Regions from separate parts of the Homo sapiens genome. Here all the other regions are linked to region 2. Evidence: promoter capture Hi-C in 16 types of primary human blood cells and fetal thymus (Javierre and others, 2016). All regions are on one chromosome and are shown on one strand. Each heading gives the region's core, a stretch centred on a gene start or on the middle of the fragment in contact. The rest is flanking DNA. Distances are from core to core; before and after follow the strand shown. Region 1 holds the start of SYP-AS1 (SYP antisense RNA 1). Region 2 holds the start of NDUFB11 (NADH:ubiquinone oxidoreductase subunit B11). Region 3 overlaps CLCN5 (chloride voltage-gated channel 5).

What was found. The method cuts DNA at HindIII sites, captures the fragments that hold promoters and counts their contacts. A CHiCAGO score of 5 or more calls a contact.
Region 1: a contact is called between the fragment with the promoter of SYP-AS1 here and the fragment with the promoter of NDUFB11 in region 2, in 1 of 17 cell types (neutrophils). The highest score is 9.7, in neutrophils.
Region 3: a contact is called between a fragment that was not itself captured here and the fragment with the promoter of NDUFB11 in region 2, in 1 of 17 cell types (monocytes). The highest score is 5.3, in monocytes.

Annotation. Positions count from the first base shown.
Region 1 is chrX:49,196,884-49,200,695 of GRCh38, forward strand. SYP-AS1 (SYP antisense RNA 1) reads left to right here and starts at 1,956. Exons shown (of 2, transcript NR_046649.1): 1 at 1,956-2,341. SYP (synaptophysin) reads right to left here and starts at 3,310. Exons shown (of 7, transcript NM_003179.3): 1 at 3,268-3,310; 2 at 2,085-2,150; 3 at 832-956. The coding sequence starts at 3,303. RefSeq lists silencers at 3,143-3,192, 3,263-3,502. The HindIII fragment of the contact is 12,908 bases long and covers 1-3,812 here.
Region 2 is chrX:47,143,213-47,146,931 of GRCh38, forward strand. It overlaps NDUFB11 (NADH:ubiquinone oxidoreductase subunit B11), which reads right to left and starts at 1,490. Exons shown (of 3, transcript NM_001135998.3): 1 at 1,261-1,490. The coding sequence starts at 1,467. It overlaps RBM10 (RNA binding motif protein 10), which reads left to right and starts at 2,009. Exons shown (of 24, transcript NM_005676.5): 1 at 2,009-2,273. RefSeq lists an enhancer at 2,033-2,302. The HindIII fragment of the contact is 2,886 bases long and covers 1-1,834 here.
Region 3 is chrX:49,925,374-49,929,241 of GRCh38, forward strand. All of the region lies in intron 3 of CLCN5 (chloride voltage-gated channel 5), which reads left to right. Among named protein-coding and RNA genes, the nearest start is that of CLCN5, 4.7 kb to the left of the region's middle. The HindIII fragment of the contact is 2,600 bases long and covers 1,133-3,732 here.

The DNA.
Region 1 (3,812 bases), core at 706-3,205, 2.1 Mb after region 2:
ATTCTCTACCATAAAACCCTACATGAGGATCTCCTCGAGTTTCTCTCAGTCTGCTATTATCCTCTTTGTTAATTTATTTGTTATAATGTAGGCTCCATGAAGGTAGGGAGTTGGGTCTGGTTTTTTTTTTTTTGGAGATGGAGTTTCGCTCTTGTTGCCCAGGCTGGAGTGCAATGGCGCGATTTCGGCTCCCAGGTTCAAGTGATTCTCCTGCCTCAGCCTCCTGAGTAGCCGGGATTACAGGCATGCATGACCACGCCTGGCTAATTTTGTATTTTTAGTAGAGACGGGGTTTCTCCATGTTGGTCAGGCTGGTCTCGAACTCCTGACCTCAGGTGATCCGCCCACCTCGGCCTCTCAAAGTGCTGGGATTACAGGCGTGAGCCACTGTGCCTGGCGGGAGTTGGGTCTGTTTTAGTTACTATCATGCTTCCAGCACTTTGAGTAGTACCAGATATAAAATAAGTTCTCAAAAATGTGTATAGAATGAATGAATGGGGATTAAATAATAATATTGGCTAACATTAATTGGGTACCTACTGGGTTAAGGTATGTATATACACCTGTCTTACTTTTGTATCTTGTTTATTGCCTGTCCCTTACCCCTTCGCTGGAACAGAGCCAGAGGGCCACAGCCTATGTCTGCCTTGCTCACCACATAGTCCTAGAGTCCAGAGCAGTGCCAGGTACAAGGCAGGTGCTCAGTGATCCCAGTGGATGTAGCCTCGAGGTGGGAGCTGGGCAGGAGCTACTTGCGGGGGGAGGTATTGGCCGGTTCCACCCTGCCCCTTCCTCTCCCAGGTCTGTTGGTATCCCAGGGTGGGAGCACACCTGAAGGGGTACTCGAACTCGACCTCGATGCTGAGGTCACTCTCGGTCTTGTTGGCACAATCCACGCTCAGCTGGAGCTCCCCACTGTAGCTGCCGCATGTGGCAAAGGCGAAGATGGCGAAGACCTTGGGCAGCAGGGATGGGGATGGCCACAGTGAACCTGTGTGCATGTGGGAGGGAGGTGCCCTCCTCTGGACAGATCGGGGGCCCAGCACAGGCAGCAGCAGATGGAGCAGTCCCCACCCCCACCCCCTAATCAGGGCTCATCGGGACCAAGGACAAGCTGATTACAAGGGTATGGCTGTCTCTTCCTGTTTCTCTCTCTGTGTCTCTCTCTGTCTCTGCCTTTCCATGCTGACCTCCCTCTTCTCTGTTTGTCTCTGTTGTTCTCTGTGTATCTCACTGTGTCTCTGTTTCTCTCGGTATCTCTGTTTCTCTATGTGTCTTTGTCTTTCTCAGATGTCTCTTTGTCTCTCTGTGTCTCTGATCCTCTCTGCCTCTGCCTATCTGATCTGTCGATGTCTCTTTTTGTCTCTTTTTTCTCTGTCTGTGTAAGTGTATGCCTGTATGTCTGTGTCTTTCTGTTTCTTGGTCTGTTTGTCTCTGTCTCTCTGTCCTGTCTCTCACTCGGTCTCCGGATGGTTCTCTCTCTGTCTCCCTCTTGCCTCTGTGTGTTGGTTTCTCTTTTTTCTGAGTGTCTCTTTCTCTCTGTGTCTCTCTCTCCCTCACCCTGTTTTCCTGCCTCTCTCCCTGCGTCTGTTTCTCTTTGCATCTGTTTTCTGTGTCTCCTTTTTCTTTGTTTCTGTTTGTCTCTTCTCTCTTATGTCTGTATCTCTTCTCATCTCCATATTTCTTTTTTTTTTCTCAGTATTTCCATCTCTGTCTTTATCATTCCCTGTCCCTCATTCTCTCTGTCACCTTCACTGTCTCTGGGTTTCTCTGACTTTGCATCTCTCACCCAGCATCTGCTACAGGCTCCACCTCCCCCACCCCTCCCTCACTTCAAGAGAGGAGGTAGGACGTCACAGTCTCCCACTTCACAACGGGGGTACCCTCAGCCCTATGTGACGTCACAGCTCATCTGTTTTCTGGCTTCAGACCCCTGAAACCTCACCCTGGAGCCCAATTCCCCCATCCCCTACAACCCCCGCACTCATCCCTGGCTACTCGCCCCTACTCCACCCCTGCTCTTCTGGACCCCATGACCTCCCTCTCTCCCTGCACTCTGCCCCAACAGCCCGGACCACACTCACCCATTGCAGCACCTTCACAAAGCCGAGGGGCTCCTTGACCACCCGGAACTGACCCCCAGCCACCAGCTGAGGAGAGAAACAGTGGGGAAGGGGTGGGGTTGTTGGAGGTACAGGGAGGTGAGCGGCAAGGCTGCCCATCAATGACCCCAGGGGATGGAGCATGTGACCTCGGGGAGAGGGTGAGAAGGAGAAAGTGACACCTTGGGGATGGTGTGAGCCCCAGGGTCCAAGGACTGGTGGGAAGGTCTGAAGAGATGGTGAGTCAGATGGCAGAGGAAGTCGGGGGTGAGGGAGATGGGGATGAGGTCAGGACTAGTTAAGGAGGGGGAGCAGGTTTGAAACGTAAAGGCGAGTCGGATGGGGAAGGGGTTCGGGTAGAGAATGGGGATGGAGTGGGGTGCATTCGGGTGGGGGGGTTGTGATGGTGAAGGTGAGTCATAACGGGGCAGGAGTCGGTTTGGCTCAGGTGGGGGAAGGGTCTGCAGGGGTAAAGGTGTGTTAGACGGCGGTGGCGGTAGATATTTGAGGTGATGGGGATGGGGAAGGGTTGGGACTGATTGGGGGTGAGTTTCTGAGGTGGCAAAGACGAGAGACATGGCGGAGAGGGTCTGGACTGATTAAGGTGGGGGAGGGCTGGGACACGGCTTCAGTCGCTATGTGTTGGGGGTGAGGAGGCTGGGGGTTTTGGAAGGAGTAAAACCGGATTGTCCCCTAGGTGTGCTCTGGGGGAAGGGGTGGTCGCCTATGGGGGTACAGTCTCTGTTTGGGAGGGGCGGGTGCCAGCCCTCTCCCCCATCCCCGCCCCCACACCTTCTGTCGCTCTATTTCCTAGCTTATCCGCAGCACCCCCCATCTTCCTTCCACTCTCCCCTCCCCTTGTCCCTTGCCCTCACTCCAGCCCCCAGGCCCCTATTCCTCCCCTCGCGGTCGCCAGTAATAAACGGGGCTCCGGGGGCCCCCGCTGCGGCAGTGAGGACGGCCCTCGCTGCGGCAAAGAGCGCACTCCTTTTCTCCACCTCCCCCTTCCTCCCCTTCACCTGCCGCAGACCCCCATCCCCAGCGCCGGGGACCGGGTCTCCGCTGCCAGACCCTGGCCACCACCTCCCAGAGTCGGCTGGCCTGAGCGACCCGGCCTAGGCAGCCGGGCGGCGGCGGGCTCTGTCCACGGTGCTGGAGCGCGTACCTGATTCACCACGTCCATGTCCGCCAGCAGCAGCATCAGCAATGCAGGGGGCGGGAGGCTCGGCTAGCAAGGGCGGCGCGGGGCGCGGCGGGGGCGGCGCGCGCTCGTTGGAACAGCCCAGGCGGCTGCAGCCCCGCCCCTCGCGCCCCCTCCTTGCCCGCCACGCGCCTGCGCACAGCGGGTTGTACCACAGTCTCACCGGCAGCCATTCCGGCCCGGAGGCTGGAGCCGTGAGAGCGTGCGGGAATATGCGTTGGGAAAACACAAGTCGAGGGCCGGGGAGAGGAGACCTCCCTGCTCGGTCCTACAGTGTGACAACTTTGCCAGGCTCTTTTCTGAGTTTGTTAAACATGTTCACTCATTTAATGCTTACAGAAGTCCTACGTTGTAGGGACTATTAGGCCGTTTTTACAGACGAGGAAAATAATTCCCCAGAGAGCTTAAGTGACTCTCACAAGGTCAGCCAGCTACTAGCTGGCAGTGCCCAGAGTCCCTGCAGTTTAAACACGGTTCAAGGCCTTCCAGGTTCCTTTTTCATAGTCTGC
Region 2 (3,719 bases), core at 240-2,739:
GTAGCATACTTTCCCCATTCTCTGTATATCATACATTCTCATGTTATATTATCTATTATACTACTTTGTATTATTGTTTTCTAATATTTTACTGTTTATTTTCTGTCTTCCCCACTATCATGTAAGCTCTATGAGAGCATGGGCTTTGTCTGATTTCCACACTGCTGTATCCCCAGGGCCCTGAACTGAGCCTGGCATACAGCAGGCCCTCAATACATATTTACAGAATGAACAAGCATCCTATATATCCAAGCCCCTTAACCAGAGGTTAGTATTGATGAAGTACTTATTATGTGCCAGTCTTTTCACATAGAAACACCTCACAATATCTCAGTGAGGTGAAACATGGCAATAATAAACACATTCTAGTGCTGAGTACATACTTACGAAGTGCCAGCTGCTGTTCTGACCATTTTTACTCATTTAATTACATGAGGCAGGTGGGGTGTCCTATTTTTTAGAAGGTGTCCTATTACTGTTCCCATCTTACAGACAAAGAAACTGAGGCACCAAGGGTTTATGCTACCAAGATCACACGGGTGGGTAACCGTCAGTGCTGCCTGATTTCACAGCGTCTGCTATTAATACAGCACAGCAGACCTGGTAGCCCTAAATTCAAATACCAGTTCCACCTCCACCATGTATTCAGTTATGTGAGCTAGGGCAATCCACTTAACATCTCTGTGCCTCAGTTTCCTCATCTGTAGGATGAGTATAATAATAGAGCCCACCTCGAAATGGGGTTTGTTTCGAGTATAAGATGAGCTAATGCATGTCAAGTGTTTAGAACACAGACGGGGCCCGGAGCGGTGGCTCATGCCTGTAATCCCAGCACCTTGGGAGGCCGAGGCGAGAGGATCGCTTGAGCCAGGAGTTCGAGACCAGCCTGGGCAACATAGCGAGATCTCGTCCCTATAAAAAAAAAAAAAAGAATGCAGACGGCAACGAGCAAGTGCCATATCGGTGTTTAGTATTATCGTTGTACTATACTGCTTCTAACGTGTTTTGAGCGCTGTCCACTTGAGGTGTGATTTCTGTCTGCAAAATAAAACCAATCCTGCCTCTGGCCCTGGAACGAAGATACCGAGAGACAAAGGAGGAACACAAGGTAGGCAAAATTCCCAAGTCTTCTAGGCTTTCGCCGGCCGCGCAGTCCTCTACTGCCTAAGAACGTCCTCTACAGCGCCCCATCTGCCGATCCCGGACTGACCCCTTCGGGGTTCCGTCCCCACTACCCCCCCCCCCCCCCCCGCCTCTCACCTTCTCATACAAGTTTTCGTCCTCGGGTTCTGGGTCCTCTTGCCACGGTGTGGTCGGTTCTGGGGGCCGCTTTCCCGCCACAGCGGACGGGGCGACCACAGTCCTGGAGAAGCTAGATTCCCAGCGGACGCGGGCGGCCGGGAGCCCTCGCGTCGCCGCTGCCGCCAAAAGACGGCGAGCGCTCAAACCAAACAGCCCAGCCGCCATGACAGATGGTGCTGCAGGGTCTCAGGGGCGGGGAAAGAAATGCGACTGTGCGCAGCTGCAGTGGGTGCGAGCGCGACAATCATCGCCCCGCCTCCGCCACGCTATATAGGTCCCAGATCTGATTTGGTTTTCCAATGAGGCGGGGCGTTGAGCAACCCTCTTTGCCTCCAGTTGTCGTGGCTTCGTGGGGCCAACCATTTTCGGCCAGGCTGAGAAATTTCTTATTGATGGGTCTGCTCATTTCCTGCATAGGAAGAAATCGGTGACATTTGGGTGGATACAGTTCCCAGCCAATCGCCCCGAGTTCCCTCGCCCACTGGGGAAAGAGGCAGAGCTTCCGCTAGTCTTTCATCTTCAAAGGAAATCAAGCTTCTAAAAAGCGGGCCCTGCCGAATTGGCTAATAGCTACTCCTTTTCTCCACTAGGGGAGCGTTCGCAAGGGGTGTGGGGAGGTGGCCAGCGCTTGCCAATCAGAGGAGGCCAGGGCTGTCCCCTAGCGGGCGGTGACCAATCGCCGGGGCCGGCCAGAGCGCGCTTCCTTAGTAGGTGGATGGTGGTCGGAGCGCCGACTCCCTTCTCGTCGTCGCCATTTTGAGCTGGTGACTGTGGCCGGCTGGGAGTAGGCGGCAGTGAGTTTCCCTGGGAGGGCAGCGCGCTTGGCGCTTCTCCCCTCCCCCCGATCTGCCTCCAGTCTCGGACTTGGTTGTTGCGCGCTCCGGCTCCGGCTGAGCTGGGAGAGTTGGAGGAGGTGGCGGCGGGCAGAGGTGATGTCTGGGAGCCCTTCCTTGACAGCCCGGGCCGAGAAGGTGAGCGTCGACGCTGGTCGTGGGGGCGGAGGTAAGGGGCCCGGGGCGGGGACGTAGAGGAGGCGCGAGGGCGGACTTCGGGTCGGGGGAGATGCGCGGAACGGAGGGGTTGGTGCAATGTCTCAACCCGGGAGGGTTTTTTTTTTTTTGGTTTTTTTTTTTTTTTTTTTTTTTTTTGGTGTGAGCAAAGGCGCGTGCGCGACTGGGACATGGGATGGGTGCATGCGGGTTGGGGGAAGGGAGGGACGGATGGGAGTGGGCTACTGTGGATCACTGTGTCGGCTACATCGAAGTTTATCAGTGGGGAAGCGGTTGTCTGCGACTTTGAGTTTGTGCATAGGAGAGGGGATGCTGCTCTGTGTTACTCTGGTGTTTATCGGTCCATGGGGAAATATTCTGTGGTTCTGGTCTCTATTCCTGGGGGATCGGAGGGGGGATGTGACTCTGGTCTTTACCCTTTGAGGGGGGGCGGTCTGTGACTCTGATCCTTATCCATGGGGCGGGGCTTGGGGGACGACTGTCTTTTGATTGACCCTAACCCACTTATTGGGTGGGAAGGGGCATGCAGGGAATGTGTGTGTGACTCATTGCCCCTTCTTTTGGGGAGTTTGTATCTGTGACACTGACGCTCATCCATGGAAAGGGGACCCACTGTGTAATTGTGGTCCTTACTGTGTGTTCCTTCTGTGATGTGGGCCCGTAGTTATTTGGGGCTCGTGTCTGTGACTGGCCCTTGGCTGTGGTGGATGTTACTGTGTGACTCTGGCCCCTTTGCCAGAGTCTCTTGAAGGTTTTTGTGCTCTCAGACGCCAGTGCCTCTGTGTGATTCTAACTCTTGCCCACCTGGGAGCAGGTAACTCGGGTTCCCTGTGGCTTGAGGAGGAAGAGAAAATTGGAGTGTGTTTGTCTGTGTATGTGTGTGCACGAGCATAGAGCAAAGGTGTGGCAGCAACCTAGTGTTGAGCAGGTGCTATTATTGCCTGGCTTTACCTGCTTCTTATTCAGAGGGTGGGGCCTGAAGATCTGGGATTCATCCTGACCTCTGGCTGGGTCACAGGGTTCTCAGGACTCCCTGAGTTCTCACCACAGCCCTGAGGGTTGGATGAAGTGGCTGCTGCTCCATCCCAATAGAAGAGCACAGTGGTTCAGAACAGCCTCCAAAAGGGCCCCTTTTGCCTCTGGAAACCGGGCTTGAGCCCTGGGGAGGGAACCACCTTAGGACCGGGCTGCACATAAGAGACAGGGCTCAGGGCTGAGCCAGTTGCTGTGTGAGGGCCAAGGCTGTGTTGGCCAGGAGCCCAGGGAGGTGGCAGCTGTCTCGTCGCCAAGTTCGCCCCTTCACACACCCCCCCAAGAGCCTTTCATGGTCTTTTGCTGCCTTATAGGGGACAGCCAGCAGCTTGTTGGGAGGATGAGATGGTCCCTTGGGGCCTGTGGAAGGAGCCT
Region 3 (3,868 bases), core at 1,183-3,682, 2.8 Mb after region 2:
CACCCAACCGTTCCCCACCCAGCCAATGGCAGGCAGCCAGCTGTTCTTTAATTTAACCCTTTGTCTTTGCAGGGACAAAACACATTAGTTTAAAAAGAAGCTGCTGCTAGCTATAAGTTTAAATTATTTAAAAGTGGGGTTGTAGGAGAAGTAGGAAAATGCCATGCCAGCAGCATTTAAAAGAACTCCCTTCATTTAAATAAGTGATCATTGGGGGTTATATGCCAGGAGACAGGATATTTTTTCCCATTTGTGTTTTTCATTTGTTTCTGGCAAATTTCTATCATAAGATTCCCCACCATAAGGTTGGGGAGACAGATGTCACTGCCTCTCCAGCTTCATCTTCCCAATAAAAACTTTGTGATGTATGCAGTTTGAAAGAGCATATTTAATGTTACAGTGTTTATATTTGATACAATATAAACATTGAGAAGGAAAACGCCTGTTTTAATAATATGAACTACCTGAGAGCAAAGCTCAGTAGTATCTTAGCTGATGTATTACATCTCTCATGAACTTGTGAATTCCTACCACATACAAAGTTATGTTTTATTTTGAGCGGAGTTGCGGTTTGTGCCCTTTGGAGGGTTTAGGAGTCTCCACGGGTATGTGGGATTTTTATTGTTATCAAAAGTGAGTGTGGGTTTAAGAAATGATAGACAAACACTACCAAAATTGGCCTGTGACCCACAAAAAGTTAAAGACCACTTAAATGGAGTGGAATGAAATAGCTTGAATATCTAGAAATATTCAGCAGGTTGGTTAGTTGGTGGTCTAATGTATCTTTTAAAAATGTTTCATTGTGTTGGTTGTGACTTTATGTAGGCACACAAATGTAACAAGTAGTTTCCATGTATAAAGATTATCAATGAGAAGACATTTATGGAAACGGGATTTGGCCTGTATGCTTCCTTTGACTCACACAATGGGCATTTATCAAGAGCAGTTTGGATATTCTTGCTTAAATCCTGAGACATTATTTCATTCAACAAACGAAATACAGAGATGAATAAGTTGCAGGATGCTAGAAGATTCCTTGTCATCTAAAGACAGACATACAAACAAATAATTTTGCCATGTTGAATAAGTGTTAGAATAGAGAGGTACAAAAAGCAAGGGAAGCCCCGAGAAAAGCTTGATGAAGTCTGAGTTTTGAGCTGGTCTAAAAAAATGAGTAGGAGCAAATGAGAGAATTGCATTCTGGGCAGACAGAGCAGCACTGTTTGGGAAGTTCCAAGTTGCTCTGTTTGCCTCATGTGAGATGTGTAGGGGCGCGACCTCAGATGAAGCAGGGAAGGTAGTTGGAGGCCAGATAATAAAGAGCCTTGTATGTTCTAGGAAGGATTTTACACTTTATCCTGAAGACAAAGATTCTAAACAGGGAAGTAACATAATCAGATTTTGTTTTAGAAAGATTACTTTGGCAGCAGTGCTGAGCTGGAAATGATGAAAACTGGGAGTCAGTCAGGAGGTTTCTGGAATAGTTTAGGGGAGAGATGGTAAGGGTCTGAGCAGAAGCAGGGGCAGTAAGGTTAGAATGGGATTCTAGAATGTTCTGTGACTGGATGTGGCAAGAAATGGGCCTGGATTAACTACCAGCTTGGGTGCCTGGGGGCCACTGGTGCCATTCTCTGAGATGGGGAGCATGGGAGGCAGCTGATGGGCATGGGGGTGGTGCACTGGATTTGGATGACCTGTTTGGGTTGAGACACCTATGTACTGTCAGGTCAATGTTTCAAAGACAGTTTTGAAAGTACAGAACTGATATTGGCACAGATGGGGATCTAAAGTTTTGTTCCTAATGATGCATAAAGAGCTTGTATTTTTTTCTCTGTAGTTAATGGAAATGTCATTACTAGTTAATGATTTATTTTACAATAAAAACATTTTAATGTTTAACAACTCTTAATCAAAATGTCATATTTTCATAGTAAATAATGTATTTTGCAAGCCCAGGCCCTGAAATCAGATGTGCTTAAAATTACATTGAAGTGAAACCTCATTTTTCCAGCATTAGTGAAGAGGGGAGTATTCTATATAAGTAAGCTCTTTGGATAACTGCAGCTTATCCTTTGTTTTGGCTAACCTCTGAAGTAACCAGCAAAGTACGATGATAGTTTGGAAGCAGTGTGGTATGATAGTTAAATGTGTGGGTCTGAGTTCTACTCCATTGGTTCTGTCACTTGGTAGCTACGAGGCCTTGGGCAAGTAACTTAATCTCTCTGTGTGGAAGTTTTCTCCTTTACAAAATGGAGATAGTAATATAACTCATCCCATTGCTGAGTATATAGCCAAAAGAAAGGAAATCAGTATTGAAGAGAGAGCTGCACTCCCATGTATATTGCAGCACTACTCACAATAGCCAAGATAGGAAATCAACTTAAGTGTCCATCACTGGATGAATGGATAAAAAACATGTGTTACATATATTCAACAAAATATTATTCAGCCATAAAAAGAATGAAATCCTGTCATTTGCAGCAACATGGATGGAACTGGAAGTCATTATGTTAAGTAAAATAAGCCAGGCACAGAAAGATAAATACTGCATATTCTCACTCATATGTGGGAGTTAAAAAATGTGGATCTCATGAAGGTAGAAAGTCGAATGGTGGTTTCCAGAGGCTGGGAAGGGAAGGAGTTTGGGGAATGAAGAGAAGTGGGTTAATGGTTATAAACATACAGCTAGAGAGAAGGAAAAAGTTTTAGTATTCAATAGTACAGTAGGGAGACTACAGTTAACAATAATTATATATTTCAAAATGGCTTGAAGTAAAAAATTGGAATGTTTCTAACACAAAGAAAAGATAAATGTTAGAGGTGATGAATATCCCAGTTACCCTGATTTGATCATTACACATTGTATACGTGTATCAAAATATCACATATACCCCCCAAATATGTACAGCTATTATATATCAATTTTTGAAAAGGGAGAAAAGTAGAACACCTGATAGGCTTGGTGTGAAGAGAAATTAAGCTAATATATGCAGAGCACTTGGAACATAGTAAATGCCATATAAGTGTATGCCATTATTATAATAGTAAAACATTTAGAATATTGTGTAGCATATAATAAGTGCTCAGTAAAATTTAGCAATAGCCGTTATTACTACTATCACTATTATTTTCTTATAACCTGGGGTGGGACTGGGACCTTGTTCTGTGGAGGTAATTTTAGGTTGTCCTTGGAAGCCCTGTCCTGTGGTTGTCTGTTTGGGTCTTTAAGTAGAAGTTTAGACTTGAAAAGATTCTTAGAAAACATCTAGCAGCCGGGCGCGGTGGCTCACGCCTGTAATCCCAGCACTTTGTGAGGCCGAGGCGGGCGGATCACGAGGTCAGGAGATCGAGACCATCCTGGCTAACACGGTGAAACCCCGCCTCTACTAAATATACAAAAAGTTAGTCGGGCATGGTGGCGGGTGCCTGTAGTCCCAGCTACTCGGGAGGCTGAGGCAGGAGAATGGCGTGAACCCAGGAGGCGGAGCTTGCAGTGAGCCGAGATCGTGCCACTGCCCTCCAGCCTGGGCGACAGAGCCAGACTCCATCTCAAAAAACAACAACAAACATCTAGCTCAATTCCTAGAGGTTAAGTGATATGCCCAACGTCAAACAGGTAGTAGTTGATCCTAGAGCTAGTATTAAAATCCAGGTCACCTAATTCCCTATTCCAGTATTCTTTCCGTGGGCTCATGGAAGAGGCAATGTGTGAGTCTGTTCTCAGCTCAAGGAAGCTTCTGAGTCAGTCTGTAGAGCTTGTTGAGGAACCCTAAGGGCTACAGGAGCCCAAATCTCCTTAGGTTCTTGGCTCATTGCTGTCTGGTTCCTCCATGGAGAATTTGATCTGAATTCCCATACCTCTTAAATG